Linked DNA regions of Homo sapiens: region 2 is linked to region 1. The links are contacts of gene promoters, found by promoter capture Hi-C in human tissues and cell types (Jung and others, 2019). All regions are on one chromosome and are shown on one strand. The core of a region is centred on a gene start or on the middle of the fragment in contact, and the rest is flanking DNA. Distances in the headings are between cores, read along the strand shown. Region 1 holds the start of PEBP1 (phosphatidylethanolamine binding protein 1). Region 2 overlaps SUDS3 (SIN3A corepressor complex component SDS3).

The links. Contacts are between HindIII fragments. The study calls those that stand out against the background at their distance.
Region 2: a fragment that was not itself captured here is called in contact with the fragment with the promoter of PEBP1 in region 1 in 1 of the 25 tissues and cell types used here (H1 embryonic stem cells).

The regions. Positions count from the first base shown.
Region 1 is chr12:118,134,087-118,139,135 of GRCh38, reverse strand. PEBP1 (phosphatidylethanolamine binding protein 1) reads right to left here and starts at 3,012. Exons shown (of 4, transcript NM_002567.4): 1 at 2,792-3,012; 2 at 988-1,097. The coding sequence starts at 2,926. It overlaps LOC101928274 (a long non-coding RNA gene), which reads left to right and starts at 3,144. Exons shown (of 4, transcript XR_945409.4): 1 at 3,144-3,279. RefSeq lists a silencer at 2,635-2,724 and an enhancer at 2,717-3,217. The HindIII fragment of the contact is 8,253 bases long and covers 1-5,049 here.
Region 2 is chr12:118,394,005-118,399,053 of GRCh38, reverse strand. The region is part of intron 6 of SUDS3 (SIN3A corepressor complex component SDS3); the gene reads right to left. Among named protein-coding and RNA genes, the nearest start is that of SUDS3, 20 kb to the right of the region's middle. The HindIII fragment of the contact is 8,830 bases long and covers 1-5,049 here.

The sequences.
Region 1 (5,049 bases), core at 1,763-4,262:
TCACCATGTTGGCCAGACTGGTCTTGAACTCCTGACCTCGTGATCCCCCCGACTCGGCCTCCCAAAGTGCTGGAATTACAGGCATGAGCCACCGCGCCCGGCCCAGTCCTCACTTTCTTAGAGGCCAGCACGAACCTCATGTGTTTGCAGAAGAGCAGACCCAGCCCCTCCCACCCTCTGACATTTTCTAGAGCAAAGGTCAGCAAACTTTCCACTAAAAGGCCAGAGAATAAATTTGTTAAGCTTTGGGGGCCACAGTCTCTGTTGCAACTATTCAACTTGGCCTTGGCAGCATGAAAGCAGCCACAGATGACACATAGCTTTGCTCCAATAAAACGTTAACTGATGGACACTGACAGGTAAATTTTGTGTAATTTCCACATCATAAAGTACTATTCTTCTTTCAATTTTTCACCAATCATTTAAAAATGTGAAAACCAGGCCGGGCATAGTGGCTCACACCTGTAATCCCAGCACTTTGGGAGACTGAGGCGGGCAGATCACCTGAGGTCAGGAGTTCGAGAGCAGCCTGGACAAGGTGAAACCCCGTCTCTACTAAAAATACAAAAATTAGCCAGGCATGGTGGTGGGCGCTTGTAATTCCAGCTACTCGGTTAGCTGAGGCATGAGAATCACTTGAACCTGGGAGGTGGAGGTTGCAGTGAGCCAAGATCATGCCACTGCACTCCAGCCTGGGTGACTGAGACTCTGTCTCAAAAAAATAAAAAATAAATAACTAAATAAAAATGTAAAAACCATTCTTAGCTCATGGGGCTGTATAAAAACAGGCCACAGGTGGATATGGCTCTCGGCTGTGAGTTACAGACACCTGCTGTAGGGGGGCAAAAGGGCAGGAAAGGCACTCTCTGGCTTAAGCATGGGTGGGGGCATCCCAAACCAGGTCTACTTCTCTGTGTCCAGCAAGGGACTTACACCCGATAACTCATCTCTGCATGACCTGCTCTTCTCGTCTTTCTCACCTCTCACCTGTATTTGGGATCCTTCCTGCTGGGAGCATCCGGGTCTGTCAGGACCAAGGTGTAGAGCTTCCCTGAATCAAGACCATCCCACGAAATGCTGGTGGGTCTATTCTTAACCTGTATGAAGGAACCAGTTTGCAGTAAAAAAGTCAGAAATGCTGAAGAAACTGGCTGGGTGTGGTGGCTCACGCCTGTAATCCCAGCACTTTGGGAGGCCTAGGAGAGAGGATCACTTGAGGTCAGGGGTTTGAGACCAGCCTGGCCAACACGGTGAAACCTGCCTCTACTAAAACTACAAAAATTAGCTGGGCATGGTGGCGGGAATCTGTAATCCCAGCTACTCGGGAGGCTGAGGTGGGAGGATCACTTGAGCTGGGGAGGCAGAGGCTGCAGGCGGCCAAGATCACCCCACTGCACTCCAGCCTGGGCGACAGAGTGAGACTCTGTCTCAAAAACAAGAAATGCTGAAGAAACCAATACTCTTTCTTTGATCTCAGACTCTCCAAAGACAAAACAGAATAGATTTTTAATAAAATCAATGACCCTGTATTGACTGTAAGAGCCAGGAGCTGGAGTTTTATATACGTTATGTATTTTATTTGAGACCAGGTCTCCTTCTGTCACTCAGGCCGGAGTGTAGTGACGCTATCAAGGCTCACTGTAGCCTCAACCTCCAGCGCTCAATCGATCGATCCTCCCACCTCAGCCTCCTGAGCAGCTGGGAACTACATGCTCACACCATCACACCTGGCCAATTTTTTTTTGTAGAGTTGGGGTCTTGCTATGTTGCCCAGGCTGTATATTATTTCAGTCCCAACAACACCATGGGGCTAGTATCCCAGCACACTATTAAGAGAAACAGATAAGGCTGGGATTCCAACCCTGGCACTGAGTCCCCTCTCAACGACACCCTTACATTGTCTGTCCGGAATCACAGCGTTTCTGGATTTGGTGATCAGGAGGTTACCTGGAGCCTGCTGAAGTGAAATCTGCATTAACTGTACGTTTCAAAGTGCAAAGAAAAGGAGAAAGCCAAGGTGATGAGAGGCGGGCAGGGAGCAGGAAAAGGGAGGCTGTGTTAGATGGGCACTACATATTTAAACATCCAAAAAAATTAAATTCTGTGAACATCCAAAACAATGTAAGGTCGGGGCAGTTTATTTTACGCTGTTGCCCGGAGCTTCATAACCAACTAGCAGTGGCGTCTGCAAATCTAGTTTCTTCACTTTCGGCAGCCCCAGCCGTGGGCGTGGGAGGTCAAAGACCAAAACTAAACCGTTGCCCTCCAGCGTACCGGCTGGACGCTCTCGACCCATTTAACAAAGGAGAAATCGGCCGGCGCGCTCATCGCCAGTTACATAATGCGTCACAGGCTCTCGGGTGAGGCTTCAGCCCTCCAAAACCAGGCCTAAAATGCTGAGGCCCTAGGGGAAGCTCTGGGGGCGTCCGGGCAGCCACAGCCTACTCTGTCCCGGCGACGTCCCTCTCCAGCGCCCTGGCCTGTGGGGGGAGAGGGGGATCCGGCCTGTTTCCGAACCTAGGTCCCTCTTGGGTCTGAAGCCCGGGAAAAGTGAATGAATTTCTGCCGCAGGCCGAACCTGCCTGGCCACGCCACAGGCCGGGTTCCCGGTGCTCGGGGTGGCCCCCAGGCATGGGACATGGACCCCGGGACCTCTGGCCTGGGGGGGCCTCGACACACGCAGGCTGAACCTCCCCACCGCCCCTGGCCCTGTCTCCGCTGGGTCCCACCCAGGAGGCCGGCACAGGCCTCCGCGCCGTGCCGCTCGCTGCACGCCCGCCGCCCGGTGTACCTGGGTGGGCGTCAGCACTTTGCCCAGCTCGTCCACCGCCGCCCCGGCGTAGGTGACATGCAGCGGGTGCTGCGGCTGCTCGTCCACTTCTTGCAGGCTCAAGGGCCCGGACCACTTGCTGAGGTCCACCGGCATGGCGAGGCCAAGCAGAGCGTGCAGCCGGGAGTGCCGCGGTAGGCCAGGCGCGGGCGACAGAGGCGACGCGGAGAGCTCAGCACACTGGCTCGGGAAGACGCAGACCCAGCGACCACGCGAGAGCACGCGCCTCAGCCGCCGCCCAGCCCCGCGCACCGCCCCACGTCACGCCCACCGCTCCCTGGCCTCTGATTGGCCGAAGCTGGCAGAGCAGGGCCTCTCGCGCTCCTGGGTCCATGCAACCTGCTCCCTGTGGCTGCCGAGTTCTCGGGAACAGCGGCTCGGCCTGCAAGGCTGTTGTTTCAAGAAATGAAAATGAAGGGCGCCCTGGAATAGGTTCGCCGAAGAGAGAGGTTCGTGTCTCAGAAAGTGTCGCTGGGAAAAAAAAATGCAATTGAATTCGCCTTGGTTGCGTTTTGGTTTTCTTAATTTTTTGCATGATTCTTTGCTCCACTTTCCAAATTCAGCAACATGGCCTGTCGCGGTGGCTCATGCCTGTATTCCCAGCACTTTGGGAGGCCAAAGCAGGAAGATCGCTTGAGCCCAGGAGTTTGAGACCATCCTGGACAAGGTAGCAAGACCCCGTCTTTACAGAAAACTTAAAAAAAAAGAAAAAAAGAAAAAAGCCAGACACAGTGGTGCATGCTTGTAGTCCTAGCTACTCCGGAGGCTGGGGCGGGAGGATCACTTTTTTTTTTTTTTTTTTTTGAGACGGAGTCTCTCTGTGTTGACCAGGCTGGAGTGCAGTGGCGTGATCTCGGCTCACTGCAAGCTGCGCCTCCCGGGTTCACGCCATTCTCCTGCTTCAGCCTCCCGAGTAGCTGTGACTACAGGCGCCCGCCACCACGCCCGGCTAATTTTTTGTATTTTTAGTAGAGACGGGATTTCACCGTGTTAGCCACGATGATCTTGATCTCCTGACCTCGGCCTCTCAAAGTGCTGGGATTACAGGCGTGAACCACCACGCCCGGCCGATCACTTCTTGAATCTAGGAGTTTGAGGCCGCGGTGAGCTACGATCTTGCCACTGCACTCCTGTCTGCGCTTCAGAGCCAGATCCCATCTTCTCATACACACACACACACACACACACACACACACACACACACACAGCAAATTCAGAAACAGTAAGGCCTTGCTTTTCTCCTGCACTTTAAAACGAGCCAGATTCTCTGTATTTTCGCACGTGATCACTTGTCATAGTAATTGCCTGGTGAGAGCACCTGAGTGAACTTTTGAGCATTTAAATATATGGGGAAATGTATTTGTCCGTTTTCTCCACACACAAAATTCGTCCTCACAAAATTCCTGAGAAATGTTTGGGTTTTGGTTTTTTATGTTTGTTTTTTGAAAAACAATTTTAAACCATATTTATTCATACCAAAACTGCTCTTACTGTGACCACAAGCTGCTTGCTTTTTGCTGAATATGATAAGCACTATTTTTTTTTTTTTTTTTTGAGACGGAGTCTTGCTCTGTCGCCCAGGCTGGAGTGCAGTGGCGTGATCTCAGCTCACTGCAACCTCTGCCTCCCGGGTTCAAGCAATTCTCCTGTCTCAGCCTCCCGAGTAGCTGGGATTACAGGCAGGCGGCACCGCGCCCAGCTAATTTTTGTATTTTTAGTAGAGACAGAGTTTCACCATGTTGGCCAGGCTGGTCTCGAACTCCTGACCTCATGATTCGCCTGCCTCAGCCTCCCAAACTGCTGGGATTACAGGCAATAAGCCACCGCGCCCAGCCAATAAGCACTATTTAACAGTTCTTATCTGTTTTGACTCTTGACATTGATAATTCCTCCCATGGAATAAAAAGTTGTCTCTTGATTTACATTCTTACTAGGAAATAATACGAGTTCATTGTAGAAAATCAAAGAAAAAAACCCAAAGAAGTAGAAATCCCCTTCTATCCCACTACTTTGTTATAAACGTCAGTAATCATTTAGGGTATATCTTTCCTATTTAAAAATAATATGAGTATAGATGATTTTGTTGTTTATTCACCAAAAGATTGCATTATATCCTACCATTATAAAATAGTCATATCAAAAATAGGTCGTCAGGCCAGGTGCGGTTGCTGAGGCCTCTAATCCTAGCACTTTGGGAGGCTGAGGCAGGAGGATCACTT
Region 2 (5,049 bases), core at 1,220-3,719, 260 kb before region 1:
GGCTCTCCTCTGTCTAGCTTCCTCTTTTCTGCCCAGCAAACTCCTACATAATACCCGTTGAAAGTCAGTTTAATACCCTCTCCCTTCTGTAACAGGTTTCAAAGGCAGAAACTCATTCCATCCTCCAAGTAACCAGAGCATCTATACAAACCTCAAGTAGACCAAGTGCCACGGTGTACAGGTCATTACCTACCCCTTTGGATGTCTGAATTCCACCCCAACACCTAGCAATAGTCTGGCACAGTAGGGGTGCATAATGTTTTGTGCAGAACGGGTAGATGAGGTCAAGTCTGATCATGGGAGGAAGTTAATTTGTGATTATGCACACAATCAGCAGAACAGGCAGGGCAGCTTCAGGGAATTCTACCAAGCAGTGTGCAGGATCTTAGAGCATGTCATACATGTGCCACAGAAAATTTGAAAAAAAAAAAAAAAAAAAGGCTTCTGCATGTTGCTCTTAAGAGAAATGGGCAGTATTAAATATTTTTTTCCTATGAATGGAATAGAGGTAAAATAAGAACCAAAGCCCTAATGAATATTTATAAAAGTGTACTTGGAAGTATAAACACACACACACACACACCAGAAACAAGTGGTGAAGGCTTCTCCCTAAAAGAAATCTCCTATCCTATGCTGAGGTGCCACCCTTCTCCAGTTAGTTACTGGCCAGTGACACAGCACCACAGTTAAGAGCTGGAGTGTCACACAAACGTGCGTTTGAATCCCTGCAACGGCTGTGTGACCTAACACAGGTTTGTAAGTGCTGTATGTCTCACGTGTCCTCATCTAGAGAATAGAAGTATCAATAATGCCTCCCCCACAGTGCGCCGTGAGGGTTACATGTGATGATATGTGTGAAATCTTAGCACAGTGCCTGGCGTAACGGGAGTTCTATCAATGCTAGTTTTTATTATTATATTTTCAGGCAGGAAAAAACTATACAAAGATCCTTTTTAAAACTCAAGGCACAAAGAGCTGAAAAAAAGTTACATAGTCGAAAGCAGCTGATGTCAACTGTGAGGCTGTGCAACACTGACACCTAATTTGGAAAATAAAGTGTAAAGGGAGCTCACCCAACCCAAGAGAGCACCAAAGGAAAAGCACATAGCCCATGAACATTATGGAATGTTCTGTCTGCCAAAGAGAGTGGCTGAGTGTGCTCTGCTCCACAGGCTGCCAAGACTGGGGAGTGGGGAGGGTGGACAATGCATGATGGATGTAAGCCAAGTAAAGGCCAATCACGGCCACTGAACTCTGAAAATCATAACTGTATCACTTACAAACCAAAAAATACAATCAAATTCTTATGAAATGGTAAAAAAAAAAAAATCTATTTTATTAGCCTGGTCACAGCAACAATCTGATTAATTTTATCCAAAAGACTGCTTTGCAGAAGGAAGAGACTCTGGAGAAGCCCCTAAAACTTATCAGCATGTCTCCATCTCCATCTAGGAAAGAGGAGACAGAAGGGAGCAGTCCTGGCCAATAGCCCAGGTGGAAAACATGATTTGAGGCCATGATCAACATGTATCACAGCCCCAACAGACACAGTAAGATTATCCACTTAAGTCACCTTGCTCCAACGCCAGGTTGGTCTAGTTGGCTTTTACGGTGGATTTTTCATAGAAGGATGGAGTCTGACAACCCAGGTCTGAGTGCACCTGGAAGTTCTATTTCTCACTGTAAGCAACGAGCTGGTATCCTGAGTTTTACCATCAATCTCCTATGACTGGGACTCTAAGAGTCCCAAGACGCTCAATCTGGCTACACTGACAAAAATCAAACTTCCAGAACTGAAGCTCAGACCCTGGGGTGTGACAACCCCAGAGAAGACACCTGAGCAGGGATTCAGTCAGGCTTCCTCTCCGACATCATGCACCAACCATAAAAAAACTCGAACTGGCTGAAATTAGAAACCCTCTCTGATCCAGAGGTCTCCTCATAGGTTTGCTTCAGTGGAGATACTATTTTATCATTAAACATCAAGCACTTAAAGCAGACTTGAGAGAGCGTTATGTGAGAAAAAACATCAAACAAGCAACAAGACTAGGCATATAACTCCTCTCCAAACCACCCTGCAATATGACTTTTAATAGTGCAAATCCTCCTGTTCTACTCACTAGGAAACCTGATGGATACAGGAACCCCCTCACCCCTCACCACAGGGAGCACAGATTCCGACATCTAAAAAATGGGAGCTCAGGTTGAAGCAATGCTAGGTGGTAGAGTCATTATAGCACAGTCCCTCTGGAGAGATATTCTTGATAAATTAATTACCTGCAATTTACATACAATTACCAGTTTACTGGCTGGCCTTTTGCTGTGCACTTCTCTAGGCCCATTCATTCATTTCCAACAGCATACCTGCCTATAGTGTACAACGGCAGGAAAAGCTTCAATGCAACATACTTTAACTATTAAAACAAGCTCATATTTATCTATTGGGAAAAATATTAATTGCAGTGATTCAAAGGGTCATCCTTAAAAAATGGGATATAAGGCTGGGTGCAATGGCTGACGCCTGTAATGCCAGCACTTTGGGGGGGCCAAGGAGGGTGGATTGCTTGAGCCCAGGAGTTCAAGACCAGCCTGGGCAACAGAGCAAAACCCCATCTCTACAGAAAAATACAAAAAACTAGCTGGGCTAGGTGGCAGGTGCCTGTAGTCCCAGCTACTTGGGAGGCTGAGGTGGATCATTTGAGCACAGGAGGCAGAGGTTGCAGTGAGCTGAGATCGTGCCACTGCACTCCAACCTGGGTGGCAGAGCAAGACCCCGTCTCAAAAAATTAAATGTACTTTAAATTTAAAAAGGAAATTTTCTTTAAAAAGAAATGGGATATAACTGGCAGAAAGAAAATCCACTGCAGAGTAAACATTATAGCAGATTGGCAATTACCTCCAAACCAGGGCAGGGACCCATAGGCTAGACTAGCAGCCCAGAGCAATCCTAGCAGACATCATGCCCTTCTCTAGCAGGATGGAGGGCGCCATCAATGTTGACACAAATTAATGCTGCGGTGGTAACAGAAGAGCGCCTAAGGTTTGTGGGGGTGGGGAATAAGAATGAATGTTAGGGCTGGGCACGGTGGTTCATGTCTGTAATCCCAGCACTTTGGGCAGATCACCTGAGGTCAGGAGTTCGAGACCAGCCTGGCCAACAAGGTGAAACCCCGTCTCTACTAAAAAGTATAAAAATTAGTCAGGCATGGTGGCACGCACCTGTAGTCCCAGCTACTCGGGAGGCTGAGGCAGGAGAATCGCTTGAACCCAGGAGGCAGAGGGTACAGTGAGCCAAGACCGTGGCACTGCACTTCAGCCTGGGTGACAGAGCTAGACTACGTCTCAAAATCAATCAATCAATCAATCCACAAGAATTAATGTTAGGTCTTTGGAGGCCAAATCAGAGTAGGAATAAAGGGACCAATCTCTTTAAAGCCAAAGTTGGCCATTATGAAGGGAGAGCAATAAACAGTGAGCCAGTCGAGCCTTCCTCTCTGCACCCTCAAGCACATTAAAAGACCTGATTCTGGCCGGGCGTGGTGGTTCACACCTGTAATCCCAGCACTTTGGGAGGCTGAGGAGGGCAGATCACGAGGTCAGGAGATCGAGACCATCCTGGCTAACACAGTGAAACCCCATCACTACTAAAAATACAAAAACATTAGCTAGGCGTGGTGGTGGGTGCCTGTAGTCCCAGCTACTCAGGAGGTTGAGGCAGGAGAATGGCGTGAACCCGGGAGGCGGAGCTTGCAGTGAGCCGAGATCGCGCCACTGCACTCCAGCCTGGGGGACAAAGCGAGACTCCGTCTTAAAAAAAAAAAAAAAAAAAAAAAAAAACCCTGATTCCACAATGCCAGCACCAGGAAAGAACATCTTGAGGAAAGGCCCACTCTGCCCAAAATCCAGGTCACCTCTTCCATTCTCCCTCTCCAGATATTTGTGTGGGGCCTCTTCCTCTTGTCTTGACACCCAAATAGCTACTCATTAGCATCTATTGCATACGCGTGAAACTTACTGCTCCTATAGTAGTACAACCACATATATCTTAGGGTTTTAAAATGAGTAAAAAAGCCAGATGTAGTAGCTCACTCCTGTAATCCCAGCACTTTGGGAGACCAAGGCAGGCAGATTGCTTGAGCCTTGGAATTCAAGACCAGCTACGCAACATGGCAAAACCCTATCTCTACAAAAAGTACAAAAATGAGCCAGGTAAGGTGGCACATGCCTGTAGTCCCAGCTACTCAGGAGGCTGAGGTGGGAGAATCACCTGAGCCTGGGAAGTCGAGCTGCAGTGAGCCCCGATGGCACCATTGCACTCCACCCTTGGCAACTGGAGTGAGACCCTGTCTTTAAATAAATCAATGAGTCAAAAACAAGCCTGTCAAATTGTTACCTTTATTTAGGGGCCCTCCATCTCAACACATTACCTTGGGGAAGTCAAGGAAGCTGTGTCAGCTTTCTAACTACCAGAAAATAGCCTCCTAGAAGACACAGACTTTATCCATTAGCCTGATTTTGTGAGTCACTTAGTGCCACCACATGTATCTATGGTATCTGCAGAGAGTCAGTAGTAGTGGTGGTGAAGAGAATATGCTTGGAGTGAGACAGACACTGGCTGAACCACTATCTATCTCACTGAGGGACTGTGAGCAAATGGCTCCACTTCTCTGAGCCACCTCTGCCATTTATAAAATCAGAAGCGATACCCCCAAGGTCAAAGGGAGCTGCGGGAACTCAGTGAGTTCCCAATCCCTGAGTGTTCACTCTGTAAACCAGCTACTTTGTGAAGCAACTTATAGGCATTATCTCATCTCACGTCACATCTACCCTCTGCAGTAGGTTCTATCATCCCCTTGCCAAATGAGAAAACCCTACCTCAGATTTAAATCTGTGACAGTGCCAGGATTCAGCCCTGGACCATCAGCCTGCAAAGTTAGCTCTAATATATTTATGTAATGCTTGGCTCAGTGTAAGTGCTTGGGAAACAGACTTCTATTTTGACATTGTAATGACTTGTGGTATCAGCTATCAACCAGCAGGATCAGCGAC